Linked DNA regions of Homo sapiens: region 2 is linked to region 1. Evidence: promoter capture Hi-C in human tissues and cell types (Jung and others, 2019). All regions are on one chromosome and are shown on one strand. The core of a region is centred on a gene start or on the middle of the fragment in contact, and the rest is flanking DNA. Distances in the headings are between cores, read along the strand shown.

Evidence for each region. Contacts are between HindIII fragments. The study calls those that stand out against the background at their distance.
Region 2: a contact is called between a fragment that was not itself captured here and the fragment with the promoter of DIP2B in region 1, in 1 of the 25 tissues and cell types used here (bladder).

Annotation. Positions count from the first base shown.
Region 1 is chr12:50,503,372-50,509,330 of GRCh38, forward strand. DIP2B (disco interacting protein 2 homolog B) reads left to right here and starts at 1,614. Exons shown (of 38, transcript NM_173602.3): 1 at 1,614-1,869. The coding sequence starts at 1,770. RefSeq lists a silencer at 1,917-2,026. The HindIII fragment of the contact is 9,488 bases long and covers 1-5,959 here.
Region 2 is chr12:48,927,919-48,933,736 of GRCh38, forward strand. It overlaps a transcript of FKBP11 not described here. Among named protein-coding and RNA genes, the nearest start is that of FKBP11, 5.3 kb to the left of the region's middle. The HindIII fragment of the contact is 4,385 bases long and covers 1-3,593 here.

The DNA of each region.
Region 1 (5,959 bases), core at 364-2,863:
GCTAATTTTTGTATTTTTAGTAGACGCGGGGTTTCACCATACTGGTCAGGCTGATCTCCAACTCCTGACCTCAGGTGATCTGCCTGCCTCGGCCTCCCAAAGTGCTGGGATTACAGATGTGAGCGACCACGCCCGGCCTTGACTTTTTTTTTTTTTTTTGAAACAGTTTCACTGCGTTGCCCAGGCTGGAGCGCAGCCGCCATGTTCTCAGCTCACTGTAACCTTGGCCTCCCGGGTTCAAGCGACGTTCCTACCTCAGCTCCCCCAGGTAGCTGGGATTACAGGCATGTGCCACTACTCCCGGCTAATTTTTGTGTTTTTAGTAGAGACGGGGTTTCGCCATGTTGGCCAGGCTGGTCTCGAACTCTTGACCTCAGGTGATCCGCCCACCTTGGCCTCCCAAAGTGCTGGGATCATAGGTGTGAGCCACTGCACCTAGCCTTGGACCCTCTTCATATTAAATTAAAATTAATGTTTTTGGAACACCTATTAGGCCACAGAGTGAGGAGGATGAGTTAAAGTAAGTTCCCTCCTTGTAAGTAGTTAGAAGTATAGAAAGAAAGAAGTGGACCTGCTCTCTATTGTCTTTTTCTTTTCTTTAGACGGAGTGTTTGCTCTCTTGCCCGGGCTGGAGTGCAATGACGCGATCTCAGCTTACTGTAACCTCTGCCTCCTGGGTTCAAGTGATTCTCCTGCCTCAGCCTCTTGAGTAGCTAGGAGTACAGGCATCCGCCACCACGCCCGGCTAATTTTTGTATTTTTATTGGAGACGGGGTTTCACCATGTTGGCCAGGCTGGCCTAGTACTCTTTTTTTTTTTTTTTTGAGTCGGAGTCTCGCGCTCACGCTCAGGCTGGAGTGCAGTGGCGTGATCTTGGCTCACTGCAAGCTCCGCCTCCCGGGTTCACGCCATTCTCCTGCCTCAGCCTCCCGAGTAGCTGGGACTACAGGCGCCCGCCACCACGCCCGGCTAATTTTTTGTACTTTTAGTAGAGACGGGGTTTCACCGTGTCAGCCAGGATGGTCTCGATCTCCTGACTTCGTGATCCACCCGTCTCGGCCTCCCAAAGTGCTGGGATTACAGGCGTGAGCCACCGCGCCCGGTCGGCTAGCCTGGTACTCTTAACCTCAGGTGATCCACCAGCCTCAGCCTCCCAAAGTGCTAGGATTACAGGCGAGAGCCACCGCGCCTGTCTTTTTAAAAGCTAAAACTGAAACGGAAACAGAGCTCCTGGCAGATAGGACCAGGAGCCACAGCGAAGGAGGTGGCCTGTGATTAGGTTTTTATAAATGGGCAGGTATTAATCAGGGAAAATGGAGTAAAGGACACGATAGACATACATTGCTAAGTCTAGTATTGGAAAAAGTAAGGCCTGGGACCCCTAAAAACTTGCTCGAGAGTGAAAGGTAAATGCTATGTGTCCACACTACTGTGGTAAAGCCGACAGTCCATACCATGAGCCCATTTCGCGCAGGGAAATTCGAGTGGTGGGCTTGGGCCCGTCGTTCTGGTAGCTTCCCAGTAGAGGGCGCCGTAAGCATATGCGTCTTCAGCCTGACTGGGCTGGAGAGGCGGTGCGTCCTCCTGGCCGGGGGGCGGGGGCCGTCGCGCTCACGTGACCTTTGCTCATGGCGGCGGCGGCGGCGGCGGCGGTGCTGGTGGTGCTCGGCGGCCGGAGCCGGATCCTGTAGCCGGGTGTGGGCCCGTGTCTGTCCGTCCCTCCTTCGGCCCCCTCTCTTGTCTTCCGGAGTGTGGCTGGCGGAGCTGGGATGGCGGAACGAGGCCTGGAGCCGTCGCCGGCCGCGGTGGCGGCGCTGCCGCCTGAAGTGCGGGCGCAGCTGGCGGAGCTGGAGCTGGAGCTCTCGGAGGGTAGGAGCCGGGCCGGGGAGAGGGCGCCCGGGGCCCTGCGGATCGCGGCGACTTGGGAGACAGGTCCCCGCCGCGCGCTCTGGCGGCCGTGCGGCGAGGGGGACGAGGGTGTAGAGAACCTGGCCTGGCGCTCCACGACCGTTTTCCCTCCTCTCCCACCCCATTAAGTGGTTTCCTGTGGCTTTCATTGTTTTCCCATGGAGGGGACTAAGTAAGGGCTTGTGGAAAGGTCCTCCCGGGCCCACACTGCTTCTGCGCTTCCTGCCCCCCAAAACCCGAGACAAAGCTGCGCCCTCCCGCTTCTGCCCAGGCGTCTGGCCCAGGTGGGGTGAGGGGTAGGGCTGCGAGGAGGGTGGCTGACAGCTTTCTCCTTTCCTCTCCCCTTTTCGTGGAGGGCTCCACGCCTTGTTCCAGCCCCCCCTTCCCCCTTTCAAAAAGAGACACATGGGAAATCCGCAGCATCATTTCTTCTCTTTCCTTTAACAATGCGCGATGCCTCCCCAGTGACAGGAGTGAGACACAAGCGGGTGAGCCATTTAGGGTCCTAGGAAGATAAGAAGCAATGGCATTAACCCAGAGAGACACACGGTGCTGCTTTTAGACCACCTTTGTCATAAGAAGTTTTTTTTTTTCCTGGTGCCTGTTATTCGGGCCGAATTTTCCGCATCTGGTCACCTTTTGGAGTCTTTGATGAAGGAAGGAGAGGAGGCTACCGTTTACTTGCAAATCCTGGCTGGCATTCTTTCTTTTGACAATGGATTGGGACAGGGAGGGTTCGATTTATTTTCAGAATTAAAAAAAAAAAATGGGATAAATCAAGCCACTGTTATTAGAGAACTCCTTGTACAACAATGAGAGAAACACAGTGCTCCGTTGTGGGCATGTGATCAGGCTTCTGGGGCAGTTGTGATCAGTTCTGTGTAAAGTTCCTGTTTTTATCACTGGCTGCCCCTGAGACAAAAGCAGCATTTTCTCCAAGCTTGATACCAGTACTTTGATTGTGTCTCCAGAGTTGCATATTCTTACTGAGTTCCTTGTGGAAGGCCCTCTTCACTAGCATTTTTCAAGTGGATCAAAAACTCTTGATTGGAAAAGAAGAATGTGACCAACTCCCAGGAGCTTATTAAACATTACTTATTGTTTACTTATTAAGGCATTATGGTTCCCTCCCCTCTGAGAATCCTTTACAATGAAAAACCAAAAATAGAGTTGAATGTTATAAATCCTGTTGGGCACTGAAGGAAATAATTATTTTTAATAACCCTTTTAATAACCCAATGTGTAGGAAAGTGCTGTTTTTACCTGTACTTAACTATCAACATGTTATTTTTCAATTAATCCAATTTTCAAGTTATTCTTCGGCCAGTCCCGGGAATCACTGGTATTAGATTAGTTTGTTTCTGTGAAGTGTTTAAGAAGATAGGAATCCTCTGGGTTTGTCTGCCCAGTTATACCTTAAGTTCCCCCCGCTTCGAAAATCGAGGAGCTTTTTGCATTACCATCAATTCTGTCTCTCAAGATAACTCATTCTTCTCCTAGACTAAAGCATTGACATTAAATCTGTGTTGACTTGCATTAAAATCTGACTTTTAAAACTGCTATTTGAAAGTAACAAATCATCTAGCTTTGATTAGAGAGAGGTTTGCCTGGATGCTTGCGTCAGAGGGAGATTAAAAATAGGAGTTGATTGCTTTCACACGGAGAGGGAAATCCTGGAAGCTCCTTATTCTGGGTATATCTGCTTCCAGCTGATTGTTGTTTACATCTCTGGGTGTTTCTAGACATCTCTAGAATGTCTAGAAACATTCTGAGGAACTATTTCTAGGACCCACACTGATTAGCTCACCTCTCTCTCCTTCAGAAAGGTGTGAAACTTCTACAAATTGTGAATGCCAAGGCTTAAACATTTTAAGGACAAGTGCATGGTTTGCTTTCCAATGAAGGATTATTTTGGTTGGCATCTGACTTGGTTTGAATTTGTTTCTTATAGATATACTACACTTCTTGTATTTCATTTGTTTTAGCAATGGATGACTGGAAAAAATACAATTGAAAAACTTGGGCCTGCAGTGTCAGCATATTGGTCATCTTTCTTGCTTAAAGTACAGGGGATGGTTGGCTGGAGAAGTGGATAGACATTAGGAATTCAAGTGAAGTTAAAATAATCCAAAAGTCCCCATATCTGTGTAGTATGGTGTTATTTGTGATGCCTGTAGCATATTTGGAGCTAAGGTTTGTTCGTTTTGCATTTTCTCTACAGTTACTCTGCTCTAACATAAGTACTTTGTCTTTTTTTGTTTTAGATGCTTTTCTTTCGTTTGTTTTTTTTGAGATGGAGTCTCACACTGTTGCCCGATTTTAGCTTACCGCAACCTCCGCCTCCCAGGGTCAAGCAGTTCTCCTGCCTCAGCCTCCCCAGTAGCTGGGATTACAGGCAAGCGCCACTACTGCCGGGCTAATTTTTTTTGTATTTATAGTAGAGACCGGGTTTCACCGTGTTGGCCAGGCTGATCTTAAACTCCTGACCTCAAATGATCCACCAACCTCAGCCTCCCAAAGTGTTAGGATTACAGGCGTGAGCCACCGCTAAAGATGCTTTTAACTGTGTGTTTATCATGCCTTGCTGACATTGGTGCACTCATTTCTCTATTTTCATTTTTTCTTTCTTTCTCTCTTTTTTTTTTTAAGGTTCAGCCTGTCATTGGTCCTAATCATAGCAATAATCTGAGCTGTATGCTGTTAAAGAATTTTCTTTGTGCTTGCCTGTATTTTCAGCTGCAGGCTTTGGTAATAGATCAGCCAACTCTGTGCTGAAATGCAGGTTTGTGCCTGCTTTGGGCTCTTTGCTGCAGAGCGTGTTGCAGAGCCCTGTGATGTGTCTGGTGCTTCAGGCAGGTCACCAGGCAGCTTCCTGGTTAAAACCTGCTTCTGTCACAAAAAGAACAGGCTGAAACTGCCTGGAAATCATTTAAAAACTGAATTTCCACATAAGGATGAGCTTTTCTATAGACGAGTTGAATAGGTAGAAGGTTTCTGCAAGTATTTCTGTGACTGAAATTTTTAATGATCCACATATTTTATTATATGCTTGACAGCTCTGTTGTTTGGACTTATGTATATGGTCTAGTCAAGTGTATGTACATAAAGTAGCACTAATGGGGAGAATTAATTTGCTTAAATCTGTCCAATAATACATTATATTTGTGTAATGATCTTTTTGTACATTGTCATTTGAGCTTTACTAAACTTCACTAGATAGAATAGGTATTGTTACCACCCACCGCCCCTTTCTTTTTTGTGGCTTAACAGAAGGGAAAACTTGTACTCAGAAAGATTGTTTTGTCTAAAGCTGCATACCTAATAAGTGTCGTTATCCTAAGCTGTCATGTGACGATGACATTGGAATGATTTAAATATTTGTGCTGTCATTGCACAAGCTGTTAACTAATTTTTTCTCTAAGGAAATGCTACCTTTTTTTTTTTTGCGATGGAGTTTCTCTTGTTGCCCAGGCTGGAGTGAAATGGTGCGATCTCAGCTCACTGCAACCTCTGCCTCCCGGGTTCAGGTGATTCTCCTGCCTCAGCCTTTCTGAGTAGCTGGGATTACAGGCATGCGCCACCACGCCTGGCTAATTTTGTAGTAGACACGGGTTTTCTCCATGTTGGTCAGGTGGGTCTCGATCTCCCGACCTCAGATGATCTGCCTGCCTTGGCCTCCTGAAGTGCTGGGATTACAGGTGTAAGCCACTGCACCTGGCCCTAAACAGTTCTATACCACAGTGTTGATTCTCTCTCTGAAATCTCTTTCAAATCCATCACTTATGCATTCAGTTCAGCAGATGTGTATTTTGTGCCTACTGTGTGCAAATGAGCAGGATACCCTGGTAGCTTTTAAGAAGCTCTGAGTCTGCCAGGGAAATCATTGAAAACTGCCAACAAAACAGTGCATGACCATGGTGGAGTTATGTACAGAGGCTGCCTTCTAAGAAAAGAGGAAGCTATCTGCTTTATCGTTGTGAGAGATAGAAGAGAATTATAAATACGAGATTGGATTGTGTGGCTAGTAGAGCGGGCTATAATTTAGCCTGTG
Region 2 (5,818 bases), core at 151-2,650, 1.6 Mb before region 1:
ATTCTTTGTGGGGGAAAAAAAAAAGACTAGTCAAGTGCAGTAGTGAGAAGGGGGAAAGAGTAGTTCAATCTGTAACTGGCCGTGAACAATTGAGATGCCTATCTTCAGACCAGCTGCCAGATACCTTTTTTTTTTTTTTTTTTTTTTGAGATGGGGGTCTCTGTCATCCAGGCTGGAGTATAGTTGTGTAATCTTGGCTCACTGCAACCTCTGCCTCCTGGGCTCAAGTGATTTTCCTGCCTCAGCCTCCCAAGTAGCTGGGACCACAGAGGCATGCCACCACACCCGGCTAATTTTTAAATTTTTTGTAGAGATGGGGTTTCGCCATATTGCCCAGACTGGTCTCGAACTCCTGGAGTCAAGTGATCTGCCCCCTTCGGCTTCTTAAAGTGCTGGGATTACAGGCATCAGTCACCACGCCCAGCTCACCTTTTTTTTTTTCTTTTGACCGAGTCTCGCTCTGTTGCCTAGGCTGGAGTGCAGTGGTATGATCTCGGCTCACTGCAACCTCCGCCTCCTGAGTTCAAGCGAGCATATCTGGCTAATTTTTGTGTATTTATTATTTGTCTATTTATTTGAGACAAAGTCTCACTCTGTCTTGCCCAGGCTGGAGTGTAATGCTGTGATCTTGGCTCACTGCAGCCTCCACCTCCCAGGTTCAGGCAATTCTCCTGTTTCAGCCTCCAGAGTAGCTGGGACTACAGGTGTGTGCCACCACACCAGGCTAATTTTGTATTTTTAGTAAAGATGGGGTTTCACCATGTCGGCCAGGCCGGTGTTGAACTCCTGACCTCAAGTGATCTGCCTGCCTCAGCCTCCCAAAGTGCTGGGATCACAGGTGTAAGCCACCATGCACGGCCCCCAGACACCTTTTAACTGAGGCAGAAATAAACTTCTATCTTTTTTTTTTTTTTTTTTTTTTGAGACAGAGTCTGACTCTGTTGCCCAGGCTGTAGTGCAGTGGTGCAATCTCGGCTCACTGCAAGCTCCGCCTCCCGGGTTCACGCCATTCTCCTGCCTCAGCCTCCCAAGTAGCTGGGACTACAGGCGCCCGCCATCACGCCCAGCTAACTTTTTGTATTTTTTTTTTTTAGTGGAGACGGGGTTTCACTGTTAGCCAGGATGGTCTCGATCTCCTGACCTCAAGATCCACCTGCCTCGGCCTCCCAAAGTGCTGGGATTACAGGCGTGAGCCACCGCGCCCGGCCTTTAAACTTCTATCTTGTTTAAGAAAAGAAAAAAAAAAGTCTTGGTGTGGTGGCTCACACCTGTAATCCCAACATTTTTGGGAGGCTGAGGCAGGAGGATTGCTTGAGGCCAGGAGTTCAAGACCAGCCTGGGCAACATGGCAAGACCCTATCTCTACAAATAATTTAACGATTAGCTAGGTATGGTGGTGTGCACCTGTGGTCTTAGCTACTCAGGAGGCTAAGGTGGGAGGATCACTTGCGTCCAGGAGGTCAAGGCTGCAGTAAGCCATGATCACGCCACTGCACTCCAGCCTAGGTGACAGAGACCTTGTCTCAAAAAATAATAAGCCCCTGATCCCTAGCCTCTCCCTACTTTGGACCACTGTGTACACTGCTGCTATCTACAGTTTCAGTCCCATCATCTGCCCACTAAAAAGCCTACCATGGCTTCACATTGCCCACGTGAATAAAATTCCAACTCCTTGACATGACAACTGAAAGCTTGTCATCCAGCCCTAATCTGCTTTTCCAAACTTGGCTTTTATTCCATTAAACTGAATCCCTCTTAGAGACAGGAACCTCATGTTTCTCATTTCTAAATCTTCATTGCTAGTATAGTGTCTGACACATCAATGCTCAGTAAATGTTTGTGAATTGAGCCAAATTCCCTTCCTGCTCATGGACTGTGGTCTGGCATCAGACAAACCTACATCTTCTGTTTCCATCTCTGTGCCTGAACTCATACACTTCTTTTACCTGTCAAGCTCCCTCCAGGCTAAGCTCAAATATCATTTCCTCTGTGAAGTCCTGATTCTCTTAGCTAGGATCTCCAGGCATACACTTGTGGACATTATTATATTTTTCCTTTTGTTGCAGTTATTTGTGTATGCCCCATTCCTCCCTTCCTATCTCCCCCAAAGAGCCAGCTAACTGATGGCAAGGTCAAGGTTGCAATCATGTCTGGAGCTAAGTACTAGCTACACGATAGCCTCCAAATAATAGATTCTAGACAGTATGTTTTACTTTGAAGAAATTATACTATGAAATACTGAGAAGCCATTAAAAGGAGATCTAATTACACTAATATAGAAAATCTCTAAGACAAATGTATATATACCCTAAGTAAAAAAGCAAGTAGCAGAATAACAGATGTGATATGAGCCCATTTATATTTTAACCCCTCCACAAACATGTGTCAGCACATACATTTAAAAAAGGAACTAGAAGGATGCACATCAAATAGCTGAGGATGGTTACGTTTGGGCATGGGAGAGAGAAGAGTAAGGGCAATGTCCCACATGTTGCTCTGTATATTTTTGTATTGTTTGGATCTTTTACAATAGAAATTACTTTGGTTATAATTTTTTTCCTGCTCAGATGTTACTTCTCAGGTTATAAAAATAATTTTTAATATTAAATATTACACGAATAAACAAGATATATAGCAATACAAGGGAATGAGTGGGAGGTGTTAAATGAGTTGTGCTAACAGAGCTAAAGGAGCCAACGTGGGGAAAAACTATAAAAGTCCTTGTAGTTGCAGAGGGCACAGGCAGCTTTGTGGAGGAGGTGAAACTTGAGCTAGATCTTGGAGTGGGATTTTTAAACAAGTGAGAAAGGAGGTGAAGGCAGAGGGCCAGATGTTTGGGAAAAATGAATGGACTGATTTGGCTAAAGTAAGGGATTTGGCCAGAGACTAGAGAGAGGTGGCTGGAGAGGGAATTAAGGGCTAGTTGTAGGCCGGGTGCAGTGGCTCACGCCTGTAATCCCAGCACTTTGGGAGGCCGAGGCGGGCGGATCACGAGGTCAGGATATCGAGACCCATCCTGGCTAACACGGTGAAACCCCGTCTCTACTAAAATTACAAAAAATTAGCCAGGCGTGGTGGCGGGTACCTGTAGTCCCAGCTACTCGGGAGGCTGAGGCAGGAGAATGGCGTGAACCCAGGAGGCGGAGCTTGCAGTGAGCCGAGATCGCGCCACTGCACTCCAGCCTGGGCGACAGAGCGAGACTCCAGCTTAAAAAAAAAAAAAAAAAAAAAAAAAAAAAAGGCTAGTTGTGAAGAACCTTGAATGTCAGACTAAGGCAGTGGGAACACATTGCAAGTTTCTAAGCAAAAGGATGACACAGCATACTGCACTGATGTATCAGCAGACTCGAACAGTGTGGTGAAGGTGGAAGGCTATTGTCTTATCCAGGTCTGAGGCTCTGTTCAGGAACCTGAAGGGGAAGAGGAGTGGAGTAGGAGAAGGTGGTAGTAGAAATGGAAAGGGCAAAACTATTAAACACAATATCCACCCACAGGCAGCACAAGCCCATCTGCACCCTGGAGGGACCAGAGAAGGAGCTTTTTCCTTGGATCAAGTTAGAAGAAATCCAAACAACAGAGAAAGGTGAGATGATTCTTGGAAAGATAGGAGAGTTGGCCCACCCCTGGCTGGAGATACAACTTAATCACAGAACCATTGCTAGAAAAGCCTCCACACTCAAAGGTGTCTCTGTCAGTGTGTAGGAGAAACCCTACCACAGTACCTGGGCTTCCAAGACTCATGGGGCACCCACCATGCCCAGCTTGATTAAAGACAATGGTGTTTATTAATTCATCCATTTGTTCATCAAGGTTGCATGACTATTATGTGCCAAAGAATAAGCAGAACACTGCTCTTTAAATGTTCTTAAGTGTTTATTTATAACAGGTTGTTAATAAAGTAAAAGCCTGAGTTGGCATATATAAATTTGGGTTTAAAATTTGATTTTGGTTGAGACAGGGTCTTGCTGTGTCACCAGTGCGGTGGCGCAAACACAGCTCACTGCAGCCTCAATCTCTCAGGCTCAAGCAATCCTCCTGCCTCAGCCTCCTGAGTAGCTGGGACCACAGGCACGTGCCACCATGCCCAACTAATTAAAAACATTTTTTTTTGGCCGGGCACAATGGCTCATGCCTGTAAATCCAGCACTTTGGGAGGCTGGGGTGGGAGGACTGCTTGAGCCCAGGAGTTTGAAACCAGCTTGGGCAACATAGTGAAATCCCATCTCTATTTTTTTTAAATAAAAGTAAAAATATATATATATATATAATATAAACATATAATTGTATATATATCATATAAACATATATTTATATATATATATATATATATATATATATATATATTTTTTTTTTTTTTTTTTTTTTTTTTTTTCTTATAGAGATGGGGCCTCACCATGTTGCCCAGGTTGATCTCAAACTCCTGGGCTCAAGCTATCCTCCCACCTAAGCCTCCCAAAGTGTTGAGGTTATAGAATTGAGCCACCATGCCTGGCCTGGTGTTGTATTTTCAAGGGTATACATACCCCCAGCTGACTAGATGTTTTCTTTCAGGTATGTTTATGCATATATTCATCCAAGAATGAAGCACTTACTTACTTCCTCCACTCTTCCCCTATGGCTGTTCTAATCAAAGAGGTATCATCCCATAAATGCAAGATTTGGCAAAGACAAGAACAGATTCCCCATCTCCTATCTATAACCTAAGGCCAAGAGTGCCCTTTATTACTATATTCAGAACTCAGAAAGAATTCCTGTGGGTTAGAGCCCCAAGCTAAGCCCTCCAAGCCTTAAAAGTCCTTCTATTCAATTCTGTGCTGGGAGGACCCTGAACGATATATGGGATGGAGGGGTGAAGGTGGAAGTGGGGGGAAGCAGGTGCCAGGCGGACAAGCCCATTCTCAAACCTGCTGCCTCGCCTGGATTGACTGCCAGACAGCTCTCAATATGCCTGGTTTGTGAGGAAGGGTGAGGGAAGGAAGGGTACATGGGTAGAACTGGTCAGCCCTCTGCATAGATAGCCAGGGTTTTGGATTGAGTATCCTCTCTTCTACACCATGTTCAGCTCAGAAGCCGGAAGTGCTCCTCAACTAGAGGCCAGATACTCTCTTCTGCAACTCACAGCCAACATGACACACACAAACAGACACTCATCTTCAAGCCTTGATGGTGAATGGTCTCAACCCAACTTCCTCACATCTACACCTCCAACCACTGCCTTCGGTGGCTTTGCTCCCTTTACCTGACTAAATGATTCCATTTCCTCTGTCCTAACCCTCTTCCCTTTTCTCAGGAATTCAGAGTCATTCTTACCCATACCAGCAATCAGGGTCAGGAAACCCAATCAGAAAGAAAAACTTGAAGAGGAAGGCGGGCATCCGGATCCTATCACTCCCCAGTGACCAGCAAGACACTCTCTCTCCAGGTACTGGGTTGGAAAGTGAGAGAACTGAATTCTGGCTCTCCTACCTTCACACTCTTCAGAACTGGAAAAGAAGCTTTTCTGCCAGGCACGGTGGCTCATGCCTGTAATCCCAGTGCTTTGGGAGGCCAAGGTGGGCGAATCACTTGAGGTCACAAGTTCAAGACCAGCCTGGCCAACATGGTGAAACCCCATCTCTACTAAAAATAGAAAAATCAGCTGGGCATGGTGGCACATACCTGTAGTCCCAGCTACTCGGAGGCTGAGGCAGGAGAATTGCTTGAACCTGAGAGGCAGAGGTTGCAGTGAGCCGAGATCACGCCATTGCACTCCAGCTTGGGCAAGAGTGAGACTCCGTCTCAAAAAAAAAAAAAAAAATTAGCAGGGAGTTGTGGTGTG